6 separate regions of the Homo sapiens genome follow, and regions 1, 2, 3, 5 and 6 are each linked to region 4. Evidence: promoter capture Hi-C in 16 types of primary human blood cells and fetal thymus (Javierre and others, 2016). All regions are on one chromosome and are shown on one strand. The core of a region is centred on a gene start or on the middle of the fragment in contact, and the rest is flanking DNA. Distances in the headings are between cores, read along the strand shown. Region 1 overlaps CCDC66 (coiled-coil domain containing 66). Region 2 holds the start of TEX264 (testis expressed 264, ER-phagy receptor). Region 3 overlaps RBM15B (RNA binding motif protein 15B). Region 4 holds the start of ACTR8 (actin related protein 8). Region 5 overlaps DOCK3 (dedicator of cytokinesis 3). Region 6 holds the start of TASOR (transcription activation suppressor).

Region 1 (2,792 bases), core at 231-2,730, 2.7 Mb before region 4:
CTCACACTGTTTAGATGTCTCCTGATGTTCATTTAAGACAGATTTATTTTCAGCTGGGACAGATGAAACCATTTCAGTTTTTTTGAATAATCCCATAATGTTCTCATCCTTTGGCTGATTAGAAATACTGTTTAAATATAGACTATATTGACCTAGGAGGTAAAATACATGTTTTAAAATTAACACTAAATTACATCTGTTATAATACTTGGCATAGTGCTATACAGTTCTTACATGTCTTACACGTTACTTAAATTAACTCTCAAAACAATCCTTGAGGTAGCCATTAAGTTTCCCTTCCTGTCAAAAAGAAAAAAAGGAAGCAGGGAGTGGTGGCTCACACCTGTAGTCCCAGAACTTTGGAAGGCTGACGTGGGCAGATTGCTTAAGCTCAGGAGTTCGAGATCAGCCTGGGCAACATGACAAAACCTCGTCTCTACAAAAATTACAAAAATTAGGTAGGTGTGGTGGCACGTGCCTGTAGTCCTAGCTATTTGGGACACTGAGGTGGGAGGATGGGTTGAGCCCAAGAGGTGGAGGTTTCAGTGAGCTGAGATTGTGCCACTGCACTCTGCACTCCAGTCTGGGCCAGATGTCGTCTCAAAAAAACAAAACAAAACAAAACAAAACAAAACAAAGGAAACTGAAGCCCAGAGGTTAAATGGCTTGCTCATGACCATAGCCATACAATTTCTTATATCAAATAAGGAAAACAAGCGAGCAACAACAGAAAACAAATCTCCATTTCCTCTTGCCAGCATGCTTTTAAAAATAAAAACTGGCCAGGCACGGTGGCTCACGCCTGTAATCCCAGCACTTTGGGAGGCCAAGGTGGGCGGATCACGAGGTCAGGAGATCGAGACCATCCTGGCGAACACGGTGAAACCCCGTCTCTACTAAAAATACAAAACATTAGCCGGGCGTGGTGGCGGGCGCCTGTAGTCCCAGGTACTTGGGAGGCTGAGGCAGGAGAATGGCGTGAACCTGGGAGGCGGAGCTTGCAGTGAGCCGAGATCGCACCACTGCACTCCAGCCTGGGCGATGCAGCGAGACTCCAGCCTGGGCGACGCAGCGAGACTCCAGCCTGGGCAACGGAGCGAGACTCCATCTAAAAAAATAATAATAATAAATAAAAAATAAAAATAAAAATTATATGGCTGGGTGTGGTGGCTCATGCCTGTAATCCCAGCACTTTAGGAGGCTGAGGCAGGCGGATCATGAGGTCAGGAGACTGAGATCATCCTGGCTAACACGGTGAAACCCCGTCTCTACTAAAAATACAAAAAAAAGAAAAAAAAAAAAAAGTTAGCCGGGTGTGGTGGCATGCGCCTGTAGTCCCAGCTACTCGGGAGGCTGAGGCAGGAGAATGGTGTGAACCCGGGAGGCAGAGCTTGCAGTGAGCCAAGATCGTGCCACTGCACTCCAGCCTGGGTGACAAAGCGAGACCCCATCTCAAAAAATAAATAAATAAATAAAATAAAAATTATAACACAAATCACAACCTAAAGGGGAATACAAATATCTTGATAAATACTCATTACCTTGACGTTATTTTTCTTATTTAGCTGTGAAATCAGTGGAAAACCTTTTCATGAATTGTCTCTATGCCCAGCTATAATATCAAAATCAGATGTTTTAGAGGGCTCACAGGATGGCTCAAAAAATGTTCTGATTTCTTTTGAATGTGCTAGTTCTCCCAGTGAAGAGAAAGAAATCATGAAAGTCTACGTGATTAGGCAAATTCTGCTTTTAACTTTGTTGATATGATTTCTCGTTATGCCTAATAAGCAGGTTGTTGCTAGAATTTTAGCCTTAAAGACAAAATCCAGCTCCCTCATTTTACCAAGAATAATCTATAACAAGAGAGTAAATAATTCCATCTTGAGTATCACGGGAATATTCAGGAGTTAATGGGTCCCCAAACCATTTGTGGGGCCTCTCCATGTGAACTGTTAATTTTTTATTTATTTCACTATTGCCTAATAAAATTTTAGATATTTCTATTGTCTTCATATTCGCAATTCCTTATCCCAAAGTGGAAATTAGAAGGCTTTTAAAAACACAATACAATGCCAGGACTTGTGAAAGACAAAGCATGTAACACTCTACTGTTCCTTCCAAATCTGTGTTAACCTTGTTTTTTAAAAAAAGTACTGCCATTTCTTAGCATGGAATGAGGAACAGGAAGAGTAAATGCTGTGGCCAGGAAAGCAATGTTTTTCAGTAACTCAAGTCAAATAGTCATAGTAAGGTTTCCTTAATTTTCACTGGAAATACCGTAATTTGTTTTTAAACAATGTTTCATATAACTATTTTAAATATGAGTAAAGCCTCCTATATTCTAAAATAAGTATAATAATAGTTTTTTGTACTAACATTTTTTCTAAAATCCACAGAAACTAGGTTTCTTAATATTCTGAACACTAACCTTAAAATATGGCACAACTATAAAAATAATTTTGCATATTAGAGAAAGTCCTCTAAAAGAACAATTATTTTAATAGATTGACAGGTTAAATTAGAGTTTAAGAGTCACAGTTACATAAAACCCAATGAATCTGATATTCTAAAACACATATTGAAAAAATCAAAATTCATGAAAACTTTAGAAAAATCTTACTTTTTGCCTCCTTTCCATTCTCAGTCAGGGAAAGAGATCTATTTCCTTGGTTTACAGTCATCAAAATCTGTTGTAGTTGGTCTTGTGTTAGACACACCAAACTGCTCTTCATGTTTTCAGCTGTGATGTGTTTTTTGTGAGGCTTCTGTTTACCTACTAGAGATGTATTTAC
Region 2 (3,027 bases), core at 176-2,675, 2.2 Mb after region 4:
CCCTCTTACACAGAGGGCTTGACCTGAGTTGCCTGGCGGGGGGGAAAAATCACAGCCCAGAGAAGACTGTTTAAAGAGGAAGGGAGCCATGTGACCCACTGGGGGGACATTCCCACCCCAATTATTTAAAAGTAATATTTAACATTTAAAAGGTTTTGAAGCTAAAAAGGCCACGCTGCAACTTTGTGGAATACTTAGCTCTGTGGAATTATTTCTTCCCTGTGGGTGCTGGGTGTTGATTTTACGCTAAAAAAAAATTGTCTTTGGAGTCAATGAGCACACAGTATTTGCTCACAAAGAGGCAAAGTAAATTTCTAAACTTTCGGTGTCAAGAAATTGAGGTGTTGCCCACTAGTCTCACCCATCTGTGCTTCTACCCATCAGTATCTCTCTCTTTTCTGCCTGTCCTACTCATCTTGTCTCCAGTAACTTTCATTCCAATTTTCTTTGATAATGATGAGAAATCTTCCACTGAATGCTTACTATACGCCAGGCACTGTCTAAATGTTGAAACACAGCTACTTCATTCACCCTCAAAGCAATCCAAAGAGGTAGGTAAGGCTAAAGGTTCAAGTAGTTAGAGGTTAAGAGACTTGCCCAAGGTAACACAGGTATTAAACAGAGCCACGTGGACCAAAATGCAGGCAACACAAGCCCAGACAGTCTGATTCCAGCCCCTCATTTCCACTTTCTCTCTCCTCTCTGGTGACTGGCTTCCAAAACGCCTGAAGCATTAAATCCTTGTTGGACATCTCTGAGCCCAAAGCTGGAAAACTCTCAGCATCTAGGCCCCCACTTGCCTTGGGAATGACAAGCCCTCACCCTGATCTGCCATCTCAGCTGAACACTTCCTGTCTCCTCAAGGAAACTTAGTATCTACCTTTCTCTTCCTCTCACTTCCCAAACTGCTCAGAAAACGGCGGGGGGGAAGAAAACCCACCTGGGGGTCTCAGAGCCTTGGTCGGCACGTGGAGAGGTAACGTGAATTTCCCCTATATTCAAGAGAAAAGGAAGAAGGTCTGGGAGCTCACCTGAAATGCCAGGCTCACTTTTAGTAACTGCTGGCATCCAGTGCGGCAGGGGCCGAGCGCTCCAGTGCTGGGAGCTGAAAGAACAGTCACCCCTGCCCAGGAAATAACCACTGAGCCAACCATCATGCCCTGATTACCGTCCTCAGGGAAAGCCTACCGGTCCCTCTAAAGCACCCTCGTCCCATTCTCAAACCCCCTGTGGAAATCAGAAGCCAAACCTAGCTTTACAATGTCAGGTCTCTTCGCTAGAGCTCTGGTCACGCCCCTCTTCCTGGAGTACTCCAATCACACTTGGCGCCCAGAAACTGCCGCTGCCGCTGACCTTGGGCAGACTGCGCCCTCCCTCTAGCCTCGGCTCCCCCTCCGCTCAGAGGCCCGGGATGGACGCGTGCGGCCGGTGCCAGCGAGCCTCAGGGAAGGCTGCGCCCAGCCAGCTTCCTGGTGCCGCTCACGTGCGCGGCGGCGGAGGGCCGGGCCCTTAAACGGCCCCCGTCCTGGGCTAAACTTCGGTGCTAGCAGAGGGCGGAAGGACTATGGAGGGTGGGGGGCCGCCGCCTCCCACTTTCGGATTCCAGCCCCTGCTCACCCCGGGCCTTGCCTATTTACTCAGAGCCTTTCTCTTCGCCCACCTCCTCACGGAGCCCCACGCACGTCTGTAACTTAAAGGACGCTAAAGTTTGCAGCCCAGGCTGCGAGGCGCGGCCTTGGGGGACGGGGGCGGAGTTAAAACGCGACTCGCGCCTCTTTCCCTCACCTCCACGGCCCCGGGGCATGCCCTGCACCGGTGGCCGCGGAAGTGGGCTGCCCGGAAGAGTAGGGGCTGCCCCAAGGTCGCATCCAGGCCCTCGGACCTGGCCGAGGCCAGCTGTGGGCAAGACAAGATGCAAAGAGCGGCCCGGGCCGCGGGGGTCACGGAGGGGACACGGAGAGTCCTGAGGTCGCGCCAGGGCGGACAGGGGGAGTCCCAGACCTACGCCCCAGTGGGTATGCCTCTCCTCTGGCCCGGCCCTCACCTCAGCAGCCGCCCGCTGCGGACGCCGATCCGCGCAGGCGGCTCAGGGTTCGGTTACGGAGCCTGCGCGCGCCCGCCGCGCACGCTCGCTCCGCCCCCTCTCGCGGCGGGACATGGCCGTGGCCGTGGGCGCGTGCGCGCGGGACCCGGAGGGCGGAGGCCTGCCCCGCCCCGTCTCCATGGCAACGGGCGTGTGCCTAGCCCCAGCGCTGGCTGCGGCGGAACCCACGGCGTACCTTCCCGCCTCCAACAAACTATCCGGTTGCTGAGGTTGATTTAGCAACACCCCAGGGCATCTGGGTTGGCAGGAGCACCACAGTGACAGCCTGGCCCAGGCTCGGGTACGGGAGGCAGCCCAGTGGCCCGCAGTAGAGGGCCAGGCTGGGGACCAGGGAGCTGGGGCTGAGGAGAATTTGTACAGCCTAGGGAGGCGCAGCACAGCAGTATCAGCCTCTGGCATTTGTACCACCTTTAGTCCTGCCACTTTCTCTCACTGTGGCTTCGCAACAGACTTGGGAACCAAGAAAGGCATAGGTGAGGAAGCTGAAGCCCAGTCTGGGCTCGCGGAAGAAACTGGTGGATCCAACTTCTGCATAGCGCAAATATCTGCTTCCTGCCTCCACCCACCCATTCCCACTTCCGTGAGTATATTCATCCATCCAACACTTATTATTACTCCTTGCCAGGACAGTTCTAGGGGCTGGGGATAGAGTGAACAAAACCAAGGTTCTGCCCTCCTGGAGTTCACGTTCCATGGGAATGCCCTTCTTCCAGGCTCCTCCCTCAGTGCCCAGGTTGTGGCTGTGGGAGGCTGGTCTACCTTTGTGGTTTAGCGGTAACTTACGTGATTCCCACGTCAAGTGTAAGCTCCTTGATGATTGGTTCAATCTTCACCTCAAATTTCTGAGGACCTACAAACTACAAAGCACTCTTCTAGGGGCCCAAAGATAAAACGCTCCCCTCGTGAAAATCCCGGACTTTTGG
Region 3 (3,101 bases), core at 534-3,033, 2.5 Mb after region 4:
TAAACACTACAGGGATTAATTATACCTAGATTGTCTGCCTTAGCGACCTTTCAGAATGGGAGGTCCTAACCAGGGTTTGGGATTGGGTCACTTCAACACTTGGAGAATGGGGAAAGGATAAGGAAGGTGGGGAAAGGATAAGGAAGGTAGAGAAAGGCGTCCTATGGTCTGACCACCAGAGGGGAGTTGGTGCCCAAGCCCTGGAGGTTTTCTCTCAGACCTTGAGCCTGACAGTTACTTGCTTAAAGAAGATTGTGCTGTGACCTCGTTAAGCTGCATTTACAGTTCTTAGATGTGCTACAGCGTGGTTAAGATTCTTAGTTCTTAAGAGCTGCATAGCTGCTGGGCAGAAGGGTCTCAGGCCGGTGGGTCTGGCATTGTTGGCTTGTGGAGAGCATGAGTCCTGGGGGATGCTGTGGATGCTGCCGCAGGGACCAGGCAAGTTTGTGGTATGGGGTGGGGACACAGTGCTGGACTTGGCTCTGGGGAGGAGGCCCCACACCCTCCTGTGACACTTCCTCCTGGAGCTCTTACAGCAGAGGAGCTGAGGCTTGCTTTGTTCAGCTGTGTTAGATAATAGTTCTTTGCCATCTCCATCTTGTTTTCCTACTCTTCACCAATACATCACCAATACAGTCAGGCCACTCTTGTGCCCACTTAGACCCAGGAACACTGGTTTTGTCAGCCATTTCTTTTGCTTACTTCCAGACTTTTTTGTATCATTGCCATGCTTTTCTTGGTTTTCCTTTGTCCACTTCAGTTTTCCTCCTAAAGGAAGTTGTGTTTGGGGATAATGAATGAAGGAAGGTTTGGGAACATGATTGCTCTCTGTTTGTCCAAGAGTTGATTCTCTTAGGCACTGGAAAAAGGCTGATGAGGGATTCTTTGCATCTAGTGGCTGCCCCTTACCACATGGGGCATTTGCAGGGCTCCAGCTCAGGGTTTGTCTGTTTTACGGGCTCAGGGTTTGTCTGTTTTATGGGGGACCTAGGTAAAATGGTTTCATAGCCTCCTGAGCTACGAGTAATCAAATTGGGCACTGAGAACTTTCCTTTTCTTTGACTCAGCGAATATTAGAGTCCCTACAAGCTAGGTACCCTGTTTCTTTCTGATTTTGATCAGCCAGACATGGTGTATCTACCTCATCTTGAGGGTCCTTTTTGCTACCACTTAAGTTTCACCCCTTAACAGATCCTTCCAGAAGTGTTAATGTGTCCGTGTGCTGCCAGAGAAGGCAGATTGTCAAGCAGAGAGGGTCCTCATCAGAGACAGTGCTGTCTTCCAGGGCGTCACACTGCTCCCGCTGGCCTCCTGCCTCTGGATGGGTAGCTACTTCTCTTGTATTGCTGCAAATTGGCCTGCACCTTTTTGGGAATATAATTTGCAGACTATATTCTGAAATTACAGAGGCATGAATCTAGGGTGACTATCTCTGCCTTGGTGGTCGGTCTTCTGAGGATTGAAGGGAGTGACTAAGGTGTTTCAGAAAAGATACATCTCTCACTTTTGCCTGGTCTTAGCCTGCCTTTCTAGTGGTCTCTTGGGGTCAGGCAGGCCTGTGCGTATCCTTGAAGGACAGCAGAGGCCAAGGGCCATGGAGGCTTACTCACTGCTCCCGTCAGCTCTGCCCCTTTGCAGCCATTTAAAGTGGCATGGGGGGAAGCTTCAGATGGCACTCGCTTGATCCCTTCAGCGCCTCCCAGGCAGGAAGCAGGGGAACTGTGTCCAGGCCCTTAGGAGAGCAAAAGGTCTCCGGGAGAATACAACTGCCAAGCAACAGGAGTATTCTCCAGAGCCAGCTCCAAGGAGTTAATTGATGTGTTTTCTTCTTTCTGGAAACTGGTAGTTAACCTTGCTCGGGCATGAATGTATGTGAGTGCAGGTGCTTCTGTAGGAAAGCTTCCTATAAGCCTAGTGTGTAATCTTGTCTCTCCCTTTTCTTCCCTTTCAGCTGACAGCTCTGACAACTCTGATTTGGAAGATGACATCATCTTATCTCTGAATGAGTGAGGAGCCATCACTGCTTGGAAGAGATTCTTGGCAGGCGAGAAACTGAGTCAAATGAATTCAGAACATATTCCCTTCTCTTTCTCCCAGGGCTGTCTGTCTTTTAAGGAGCTGCATGCCCTGCATTCAGAAGATTATGGCTTAGAGAGCCTCATTGGCACCCGAGGGTCCTTCCAGAATCAATAACCACCACAAAAATGACAACAGGGACTAGGCCCTACTCTGCACCCCCCACATCCACCCCCCACCATTTCCTAGGATGGACATATCTTTCAAGGGGAAAAAAAAACCATGTCTCTGGGGTATTTCACAATATATTTTCTTTGTATAGTGTTCTTTACTTAAAGAACAAGAAATAGTTTTTTATAAAACTTTAAAAAGGAAAAAAAAACAGGCATTTATAACTGAGGGTATGAACTTATATCCACCAGGTCTCTTGTCCCTGCACTTCATTTTCTTTGGAAGAAAATGATGTCTAAAGAACAATATAGAGGCATTTTTACATACGTATTTAAATGAAAAGGAAAATCGTGGTTTCTTAAATTGATAAGGATTAAGAATATTTTATTATAAATATAATATATGATTTTTTAACCTGTTTTGTTGCCTCATATGCTGTCAGGTTAATTTGTTTTCCTTCGTGCCAGAGGTGGGGAGGAAGGCACTCTGTCTGCTGGGTAAATGCCTAAATTCACTCACCTTCATGGTTTGGGGGCAGCATGGTCATTGTGGATATTGGTTTTGTGGAGTTGAGGGAACTTAGGATATAAGTTCACTCCCTCTATTTTTCTTTGTGATTCAGTTTTTCAAAAATCTTTTTTTCTTCCCTTTCTCCCCATTGTGGAAATTACAAATCAAAGGCCTTTTTCTTTAATGTAAAGTGTATTTATTTAAAAAAAATACAAAATAAACTACAAGTCTGTCTTTGTTTATGGCCTTTCCCTATTTTCTTTTACCGAAGTGGGGTGTGTCCCTTTTTTGCAGCTCTAGCCAGGCCATAGAGAAGACACCTTCCAGGAGAGGCAAGGAGAGCATGTTCTGCCCACATAGAGCACTCCAGGGAGGAAAGTAGCTTATACTCACAGTGTCTGCCC
Region 4 (3,137 bases), core at 474-2,973:
TAGATTGTATTGCCAGTGAATGGCAGAGGCATTATTAAACCTCCACCTTACCCTATAGCGGGGAGACCATGGCAGAGTCTCAGTAGGTGGTTGATTGTTGTTACTGATGGCTCTTCCTGAGCATGTGAACCATGGTCCTCTTCTGCCTCCTAGCACTGCTGCTGCAGGACTTGTTCCTCGGGTCTTATCCCAGAGTTCTGGCTGCATTTGACATTCAGGTATTCTTCTTTGCACTTCAGATAGAATGTAAAACACAGGTTCTTGAGTACTTTATGCTTAACTCTTGTCTTTGCTACTCAATAGCTTATGATCTTGAGTGAATTATGCCATTTTATCCCACTTCACTCACCTGTAAAACGGGGATTAAATTTTTACCTCCAAGAGTTCTTTATTTAGTATTTAGTCATCACATGCTTATTGGGCACCTACCATGTGCTGAAGATAACTGGCAAAGTCTCACGGAGCTTACATTCTAGTGTGGGAGACAGTGAGCAGGCATGATAATTACAGACTAATGCTTCATGCTTCAAAGGGAATAGGATGATGAGAGAATAACTGCGGAAGGCCTGAGGTGACATTTGAGTTCAGACGTGAGAATGAGACAGCTGAGGGAAGAGCATCCAAGGCAAAATGAACAGCAAGTGCAACAGCCCGATGACGGGAAGGGCTTGGCATGTCTGAGAAAGATAAAACAGGTGTAGCTGGAAATGCCAAGGAATGGGGAGAGTGTTGTGAGGTGAACTTAGAAATGTAGCAATAACTAGATATGGTCTTTAGGTGGTGGTTAGTTTAGATTCTGTTCTTTGAGCAAAGGGAAACCATTAGAGTTTAAAGCATGAGTGACATCTAATTTTTGAGGTAAGTCTTAGTGGAGTGCTGGGTACATAGTAGTATTAACTACGTAATATTTTAAAACAACGTGGGCAACTATATAAGAACAGATCATAGGGGGACAGGACAAGGAGTTCGAGTTAAGAGGCTGTTGTAGTCATCCAGGTGAGATGATAGTGGCTTGGGCTAGGTAGTGGCATGGGAATGGAGAAGTGGATGAATTCAAGATCTATTTTAGAGACTGCAGGATTTACTGATGGATTGGATGTAGAAGCTGTCAACAAGTGAAGAATCAAAATGACATTTACTGAGATGGTGAAAGTGAGAGGGGAGGGAATCAAGAGTTAAATTTTGGACATATTTAAGTTTGCAGTGCCTTGTAGACAATCCAGATGGAGAGACCAAGTAGGCACTGGTTATCAGTACGGATCTCTCTGAGCGGTTCATCCTGGATATATATATTTGGGAATCGTATTCATTGCTAAAGCCAGGAAACTGGATAGTCACCCAAGGAGTGTGCCTGGAAAAGACCTAACCCCAACATCAGAGGCTGGACTGAACATGAAGACATATGAGAAAAACTAAGAGTACATATGGTATCTGGGAAGCCAGGAGAAGAGATGCCTGTGAGGACGAAATAAGATGCGGGTTATCAGCCGACCCCCACTAGGCGCTCGAAAAGCTATGTGTACTATGTTGCTGGCATCTACACAGTCAGGACTAATCACAGCAACACCCACCCAATCAATCCGCATGCACACCCCGCCCCCAGCCCCTGCGCCGGGCAGCCCCACCCCCGCCTTTTCGGAGCCCTCTGGGGCGACTCCGCGGCGGCCATCTTGACTGTGGGCAGCCGGCCGTGCGCCTGCGCGGTGGCCCTTCCATCCCGGCAGTCGTGGCTGCAGCGCTGAGGCGAGAGGTTGGTGGGTGTCTCCGGCCATAATGACCCAGGCTGAGAAGGGTGATACGGAGAACGGAAAGGAGAAGGGCGGCGAGAAGGAGAAGGAGCAGCGCGGCGTGAAGCGGCCCATCGTGCCCGCGCTGGTGCCGGAGTCGCTGCAAGAGGTGCGGCTCTGGCTGGGTTGGAACTCTTTGCCCTTGCTTGGGTCCTCCGCTGCCAGGCAAGGGGCGGGAGGCGGCGGGAGGCTTCGAGTCCCCCTTGCAGGCCCCAGCCCCTGGTGGGGGGAGTGCGGAAGCGGTCGTTCTTTTCCGGGTGGTGGCGCGCCGGGACGCCGAGGGCTGGGAGGTGCGGAGCGCCAGGAGCCAGGCGGAGCCCCCGCAGGGACACCGCTCCGATCTCCCGCACGCCCCACCGTCTGGTTGTGTGCGCTCCTGCCCGGGCTCTGGCCTCAGCTTCCCCGACCATAAAACGACCACGGTGATAACCAGCCGCCTCGCAAGTTGCCGTGAGGGTTAAATGGTGGCAGATAGAGTTTAGGACCAGGCTGGCTCACTGGGAGCGTCAGCCTGTGCTTGTTAAGGGATAGTTTGGGGTCCAGGCTTTTTCCTTTGTTAAGGAAATCTCAGATAATGGAAGTCATTTCAAGCTTAAAAGCAAGGAAATGGTGGACATTTGTCTAAATATATATTAAGAGCTTGTGTATCAAAAACAACACTATTAGACCAAACTAAACTAACCAGAAAAAATTATTTGCAGTAGCGTGCCTGGCAGAGGACCTTAGATGTATACACATACACAAAACCTTACTGATCAGTAACTAAAACAGCATTCACGTAGGAAAACGGGCACAGGCAGTGTACAATTCACAGAAGAAATGAGGCATAAACTGCTCAGAAATTCATGTAGGACATCTCTGATCCAGCTTCCTTACCGGTAGATGGGTTAAGGATAATACCTAACTAGTAGGGCAGCTACTAGTTAGTTATCACTAGTATGACAGTGCCTGGCACACCGTAAGCCCAGAGTGGCCATTACTGTTGCACAGGCCTGGTTTCTCCATCTGTCTAGTTGAGAAGGCTGACTGGATGGTCTGTAAGGGCCTTGCCAGATCCTTCCCTCTAGGATTCTCCCACTCTGTGGGGGGTGATTAGGAGGAGAGAGGTCACACTTGGAGATAGGACAACAGGTATCAGAGCATGGCATGGAATGGGCTTGTGCAGAGGGCAGTATTGGGCACTCAAGCAAGTACCTCCTCCATCCCCGACAGTCAGGGAGGGTTTCTTCAAAGGAGGTGAGGTGACATCTGTTTAGAGTCCTGAAGGTGATTAGGAGCTAACCAGAGGGAGGAGGGAATCTCAGGGAAGAAGAACAGTGTGGAAGACACTTGTGCCAACAGAGGATGTGA
Region 5 (2,804 bases), core at 175-2,674, 2.5 Mb after region 4:
GCTTTTCAGACCTGGAGTGATTGGCAAGCTGCTTACTGAGGGCGGCATCCCAGCCGCCTCGTTGCCCCTCACTGCTCCCCTCGGCCGTGCTCCCAGGCCATGCGGGCCTGCTCCTCCTTAGCGCTCCCAGGAGGCAATGGAGCCTTGCGGTGCAGGCCTCGAGGCCTCTCAGTCTCTTCACGCAGCAGCACCCCCTCATCGTGCTCCAGGGCCGGCAGGCGGGGGTGGTAGGGCTTGGGCGGCAGCGCAGGCGGGTCCATGGGGTCCTGAGGGATGACGCACCCTGGGGCTGAGTGGCTTCGGCATGGCTGGGCCTTGATGGAGTCCAGGACGGCAGACTCAGAGAGGCTGTAGTGGACAGGGAGGTAGGGTGGCTCAAGATCTTCGTCAGCATTCCAGGCCTGACTTGGCATGGAGTCCATGGTGTCAGTGCGAGGTGGGGCCTCCGAGGAGTGCCCAAAGTTACTCTCACTCAAGGAGGACACGCCGCTGCTGGCACTGCCGGACAGCGTAGAGTTGCTGCCGTCCAGACCTGACTGGGGGCTTGTGGGGGAGGCTGGGATAGGGTGGAGAGGAGACTGCGAAGGAAAGGGTGGGCATGTTAGAATCCCTCTCTCCAGACAGGCTGACTTGCCCGCCATAGGAAGACCAAGAGCCTGCTTATGAATGAACTTTAACCCTCATCAACAGCATGTTTCTTGTTTCTTCAGCAGCAAGCTCCCAGCTCCTCCCACCACCCCTAAGCCAGTGGAACTCCAGAATCATCTGCATTTCTGTGGCCAAAAAATTGCCCTGCCCTGGCTGCTGGGCATTGGTGCCCCCTGGTCCCAGGTCCCAGGCTGCCGTCGGTGGCTCTGGGATACTGACATAAAGGCTGGGTCATCAGGCCTGTTGAGGAGGGGCAGAAAGAACCCTGGTGGGCCGTGGACCAGAGGAATGTATTCTGCTGCTAAAATCTGTGATAGACTCAGTCTTTTCCAATTTGCAGACAAGCTAACAGGTAGGAAATTTTACTCTCCTGAGTTTTTCATAAAGTTCTTGCTTTTACTGAATTCTAGTTTGAAATGCTCTCTGATCCACCACAGGAACATTTGTTTAGCTAGCGAACTACAGTGTGTTGATACCTTGGTGCTGGCTGAGAGCCCCCAGGTTTCCCAGTGCTCACTGCCCACACACTCTTGGTACTGTGTGTTGTTGTCTCCAGGACCCTCTGATCTCCCTGCCCCCATCACATTTGCTGCAGGACACAAATGTGCACCTGCAGCTCAAGTGTGGCTCTGGCCACCCCCAGCTTCTGCCAGGCTGGGGAGAGAGGTGAAGGGGAGGGCTCCAGTTCCTCCTGTAGACCCCAAGGGTGGTTCTAGAGCAGACGAGATGACTCATCTCACAGCCTGGTGGGGCTGCCGCTTCAGTACATTACCTTGCGCAGGGTCCGGGCAGGGAGGGCTGGGGGGGTATCACCCAGAGGGTGGTGGAAGGCGTCAAAGTGTAGGGAGTAATGACCTGCAAAGGGAACAGAACCAGAGCCTCAGCTGGGGGCCCTGCACAGACTTCATGCCAGCACCATCTTGCTGGGCCAACTGGGCAGGCATGAGAAGAGTCCCCTGGGGACCCCTCAGCATTGAGGGCTATGGATAAACCTCTCTTTACACTGGCCTTCTCCAAAACACAGGCTGCTGGGGTAAAAGAAACTCACTCCACACAGGAAGTCAGAGAAGTTGAGTGCTTCAGAGTCTGTGGAACAGGCCTCAGGCAGCGGCAGCTCTAGCCCACTGCTAGGCGATGAGACAGTCTGGTGAGAAGTGTGCCTGGCACAGTCAATTCCATTGTCTTCAGCCTTCTGGTTGGGATGGCCTTCCTGAGCTAACCTGCTGTACTCGGAAACCTCACTGACCCCAAAGCCCAGCAGGATCCTTCCTGTGGTGGGGGTGTTTTGGCTTTGGCTGAGTCGGCCCAGAGAATGGCCCATCTTCTCAGCTTAGATGGCTGTTGCTGTGGCCCTTGAGCAGAGTCTGAGACCAGGGACTATCGGGGGACCCGCTGGAGGTCTTCTTACCATGCAGCAGGCTTCGGGGAGGCACTGGGGGGGCCAGGATGCGCCCCATATGGGCAGACAGGAAGGGCTGGGCCTCTTGGGCTCCGCTATCCAGACTCCAGCTGCTGGGGGCTGCTGGCACAGCTGAAGGGTGGAAACAGATGGCATGAAGGGAGGTTACTTCTTGAGCCACCCTCTGGGAGAAGTACAGCTTGTGGCTTCTCCAGTGTGCACCACGTATCCAGCACACATGTGGGGCATGCCAGCACCTGGAACTAAAAACGCTGGCCAAGCAAGGCACTGTGGTCCACAGGGGAGAGTGGCCAGGGATTGAAGCTGCTTAAGAGGAGGGCAACAGAGTGAGTTTATGTCTAAAGAGTATTCAGGATGAGATAGCTGAATGTGCAGCAAGGAGTGAACGCCTGCAGCCTCTGGGATCTGCCAGGAGGAGAAGAGAAAACAGGACAGAAGAGTAGAGATGAGAATGAGAGAATATAGAGAGAGCACAGGACATAGAGCTCCTTGCCAAAGTCTAGAGTCAGCTCTCCTACTGCCCAGGCTCAGTGGGAAAAGCAGGGAGCAAGGACAGGTACCTGTTGGAAGAAACTGCAGCCCAGATCCAGCTGGACCCACTGCTTCCTAACAGGAGGAGGGAGGGCTGTGGAGCCGATGAGTACCCTTTGGCGTCTACAGAACCCCAGTTCCTAGCACCCACATGCCATGGATGCAGGGGTGCAGTGGGCCCAGGAAAAAGGGAAGCACAGAGTGC
Region 6 (2,773 bases), core at 230-2,729, 2.8 Mb before region 4:
AGGTAGAAACCACTATGTAAAGGGCTCTTAACTATGAAGTTGTTCCCTTTATGGGAGAGCGACGACCTGCTGTGTATTTTTTAATGTGACCGCAAGTTTATTTTTTCTTTAATATACATTTACTATAGGAAAACGTTGATGAACGTTCCAGTGGAAGAAACAGTGGAGTTAGAGGTTTATCAGTGGCCAGATTTTTAACAGAAGTAACCATAGAAAGGGAACAAATGGAGGCCAGGTGCGGTCTCCATGGCGTGTGGTGGGGGGGGGTGCGACTAAAGGAAAAAAATGGGAAAAGTTAACAGCCTCCTCCCCTCAAACTCCCCAGAACCAAATCCTGTTAACACTAGGTTGTTAAGTCCCATCAGAGGATCTCAGGTGAAAGTGCTTGCTGGAGCTGTGACACTGGGTCACACTCTCTGAGATAAAAGAGAAGGCCGGGTGCGAGTAATCTATCATAAAGATACAAGATCCGGTGAGAATAGCAGGTCGCAAAGGCTGTCGAGGCTTTTAGGCTATTACCGCCTAGCCCATTCTTTTATCTCCTCTCCAGGTTTTTGTACACATGCAAATAGTTCATAAAACCGAGATCGTCCCGCATCCACTGCTCTGAAGCCCGTTTGGGCCGAGATAACTCGTGCGCAGAGGAAGGGTTTTGCCCACAAATGGGCGACGCCTGCGCTCCGGAGAAGAGGCCAAGCTAGTCTCCCTCGCCTGCAGCGCGGCGGGGGAATCCCCGGGAACCCGAAGATCGCCAGGGGCCCACGCATTCCGCAGGCCACGGCTGCGGCGTCGAGGTCCTCGCGGGGCGTTGCGGTCGCCCCTTTTGGCGGGCTCGGGCGCCCCGAAACTCCGCCCCCCGGCGCGGTATTTCCGCACTCGCGCAGGCGGGTGCCGCGCTCCCATTGGTGGAGTGGCCCGCGGTGGCCCCGCCCCCTCCCGGCCCCGACGCGCGCACGTTGAGTGGCGGGGGAAGGCAGAAGAACTGCCCGAGGGAGGAGCGGCTCCGAGGACCGGGCAGCGCATTTGGGGTGCCCGCTACAGGGCCCCCCAAGAGGCTGCCAGGTCGGGAGCGCAGCCTGAGGCCACGGGGGGAAGGGGGTGGGTGGGCTGAGAGCAGCTCGGCGGCGAGACTGGCCCGCCGCCCCTTCCCCCCACACCCGTCGACCTTGTGGGCAGAAGCTTCCCAGAGCTCCTTAGGCCGGCGCGATGGCGACTGCTGTGGAGACGGAGGCCTGTCAGCCGACGGATGCGAGTTGGGAAAGTGGCGGCGGCGGAGACGACGAGATGAAGCAGGCGCTTCCGGAGCTTGAGTCCTCCCAACAAAATGGCGGCGGCGGCGGCCTCAACATCGCTGAGCCCAGCGGCGGCGCTGGGCGTGAGGAGAACGCGGGGGCCGAGGCCGCCCAGAGCCTCAGCCACGAGCAGCCTCAGGACTCCTCTGAGGCGGGCGCGGCCGCCCTGCCCAGAGGCCCCGAAGAGCCCGAAAGGCCTGTTAGGAGGAGTTTTCAGATCCCCAGGAAGAGCAGAGAAAAGAAAGGTGGTGCCTCCCCTTCTTCTCAACCCCCTCTCTCTCTCCCCTCCATCTTTTCATTAGAATCTTTCTATCTCCTCTTCCCACACCCATCCGAGATACGTAAACACGCATGCAGCGCCGGCCGCCTCTCCCCTCACCGCCACGGCCGCCCAGCTGCCGCGTTTGGTGCGAGAGAAAGCGGTGGAACCACGCTCCCCTGCTGCCCCTCCCCGCGGAAGTTGGAAGTAGCTCAGGTTTGAAGCTTGTCCGTAAGGCTGCAGCTCCCAGAGAGGAAAGATGGTGCTCGGCGCCCCTCCCTCCCAGCCCCTGAAAGCAGAGAAGCCGTTGTGTCCTCCTAAGGATGCTTCTGAGAAGTCTCGCTATGGAAATAGCCCGTGGCCATGGATTCTGGGGCTTTCTCCAAGGCCATTGCCAATGTTCTGAGGACCATGAGTGCTTCTCCCCGTGGAAATTCTTCAGTTCTGTGTGTCTACTTGAAATGTGCTTGATGTCAGCGTCCTCCCTTATTTAGAAATCTCTATTAGTAGATGTGATCCATGCACACTGCTGTTTTCCATCACACTTCATTTCCATGTAGATTTTTCCCCCTTGTTTTTGAAGCGTTAGATTAAATAGGTTTTTCTCTCTTTAAATTCGAACTTAGTATTGTTTTTCTTATATTTGAAAAGAATGGAAAGGTAGGTTCTTGGAGCAGTAATTTCCCAATGGAAAAAAACTAATGAGAAGTTACCTTATTCTCAAGAGTCACCAACTTGGTCTTCTAGATGGTAGAACTTCAGGTTAAAAAAAAGTCCAGTCTTAGTTTTTGGAACCCATATGGAAACAGTTACATTAATTACTTGTACTTTTAAAAAATCTTAATGCCATATTGTTAATATGGAGTCAGAATTCCTAATGGAGGTCAAAATTAGTATCGTTTTTTGTTATTGGGGTATTATTTTTTAACTATCCAGTAAATTTTGGATATTCTGAATTTAGACAACTTCCTTTTTGCCCTACTGTATGGTTAGGTTTTCATTATTTACTTTGGAAAAAAATAGGATTTGTTTTTTTCCCGTATCTTTTCCATCCATCTGGTACAGAGTCTTGGCTGTAGCATTATACTGACTTTCCATAAGCATCACCAGTTCCATTTGCACTACTGGAATTGTTTGAGCCTTTTATTGGAAAAATACAAATAAAGTTCATTTGTTTGGATGGCAAAGCCAAGAAAATACTTGGTGTGAGAAACCATGTTGA

The links. Contacts are between HindIII fragments. The CHiCAGO score rates a contact against its expected background, and 5 or more counts as called.
Region 1: a fragment that was not itself captured here is called in contact with the fragment with the promoter of ACTR8 in region 4 in 1 of 17 cell types (naive B cells); the score reaches 5.0 in naive B cells.
Region 2: a fragment that was not itself captured here is called in contact with the fragment with the promoter of ACTR8 in region 4 in 1 of 17 cell types (fetal thymus); the score reaches 5.6 in fetal thymus.
Region 3: a contact is called between a fragment that was not itself captured here and the fragment with the promoter of ACTR8 in region 4, in 1 of 17 cell types (neutrophils). The highest score is 6.5, in neutrophils.
Region 5: a fragment that was not itself captured here is called in contact with the fragment with the promoter of ACTR8 in region 4 in 1 of 17 cell types (neutrophils); the score reaches 7.8 in neutrophils.
Region 6: a fragment that was not itself captured here is called in contact with the fragment with the promoter of ACTR8 in region 4 in 4 of 17 cell types (naive CD4 T cells, fetal thymus, total CD8 T cells and 1 more); the score reaches 9.3 in naive CD4 T cells.

Annotation. Positions count from the first base shown.
Region 1 is chr3:56,563,954-56,566,745 of GRCh38, reverse strand. It overlaps CCDC66 (coiled-coil domain containing 66), which reads right to left. Exons shown (of 18, transcript NM_001141947.3): 4 at 2,621-2,792; 5 at 1-152. Among named protein-coding and RNA genes, the nearest start is that of CCDC66, 8.2 kb to the right of the region's middle. The HindIII fragment of the contact is 3,205 bases long and covers 1-2,792 here.
Region 2 is chr3:51,670,306-51,673,332 of GRCh38, reverse strand. TEX264 (testis expressed 264, ER-phagy receptor) reads right to left here and starts at 2,081. Exons shown (of 5, transcript NM_015926.6): 1 at 2,045-2,081. It overlaps LOC124906237 (a long non-coding RNA gene), which reads left to right and starts at 2,228. Exons shown (of 2, transcript XR_007095907.1): 1 at 2,228-2,684. RefSeq lists a silencer at 1,916-2,345. The HindIII fragment of the contact is 3,279 bases long and covers 1-3,027 here.
Region 3 is chr3:51,397,678-51,400,778 of GRCh38, reverse strand. RBM15B (RNA binding motif protein 15B) reads right to left here. Exons shown (of 1, transcript NM_013286.5): 1 at 2,871-3,101. It overlaps DCAF1 (DDB1 and CUL4 associated factor 1), which reads left to right. Exons shown (of 25, transcript NM_001387579.1): 25 at 1,952-2,937. The coding sequence ends at 2,010. Among named protein-coding and RNA genes, the nearest start is that of RBM15B, 7.9 kb to the right of the region's middle. The HindIII fragment of the contact is 236 bases long and covers 1,666-1,901 here.
Region 4 is chr3:53,880,738-53,883,874 of GRCh38, reverse strand. It overlaps ACTR8 (actin related protein 8), which reads left to right and starts at 1,723. Exons shown (of 13, transcript NM_022899.5): 1 at 1,723-1,896. The coding sequence starts at 1,774. RefSeq lists silencers at 1,507-1,596, 1,987-2,096 and an enhancer at 1,757-1,836. The HindIII fragment of the contact is 9,111 bases long and covers 1-2,380 here.
Region 5 is chr3:51,378,824-51,381,627 of GRCh38, reverse strand. DOCK3 (dedicator of cytokinesis 3) reads right to left here. Exons shown (of 53, transcript NM_004947.5): 52 at 1,421-1,503; 53 at 1-578. The coding sequence ends at 69. Among named protein-coding and RNA genes, the nearest start is that of MANF, 5.1 kb to the left of the region's middle. The HindIII fragment of the contact is 4,570 bases long and covers 1-2,804 here.
Region 6 is chr3:56,681,440-56,684,212 of GRCh38, reverse strand. TASOR (transcription activation suppressor) reads left to right here and starts at 948. Exons shown (of 24, transcript NM_001365635.2): 1 at 948-1,537. The coding sequence starts at 1,207. RefSeq lists a silencer at 816-1,115 and enhancers at 1,256-1,425, 1,846-1,965, 1,173-2,117. The HindIII fragment of the contact is 596 bases long and covers 1,182-1,777 here.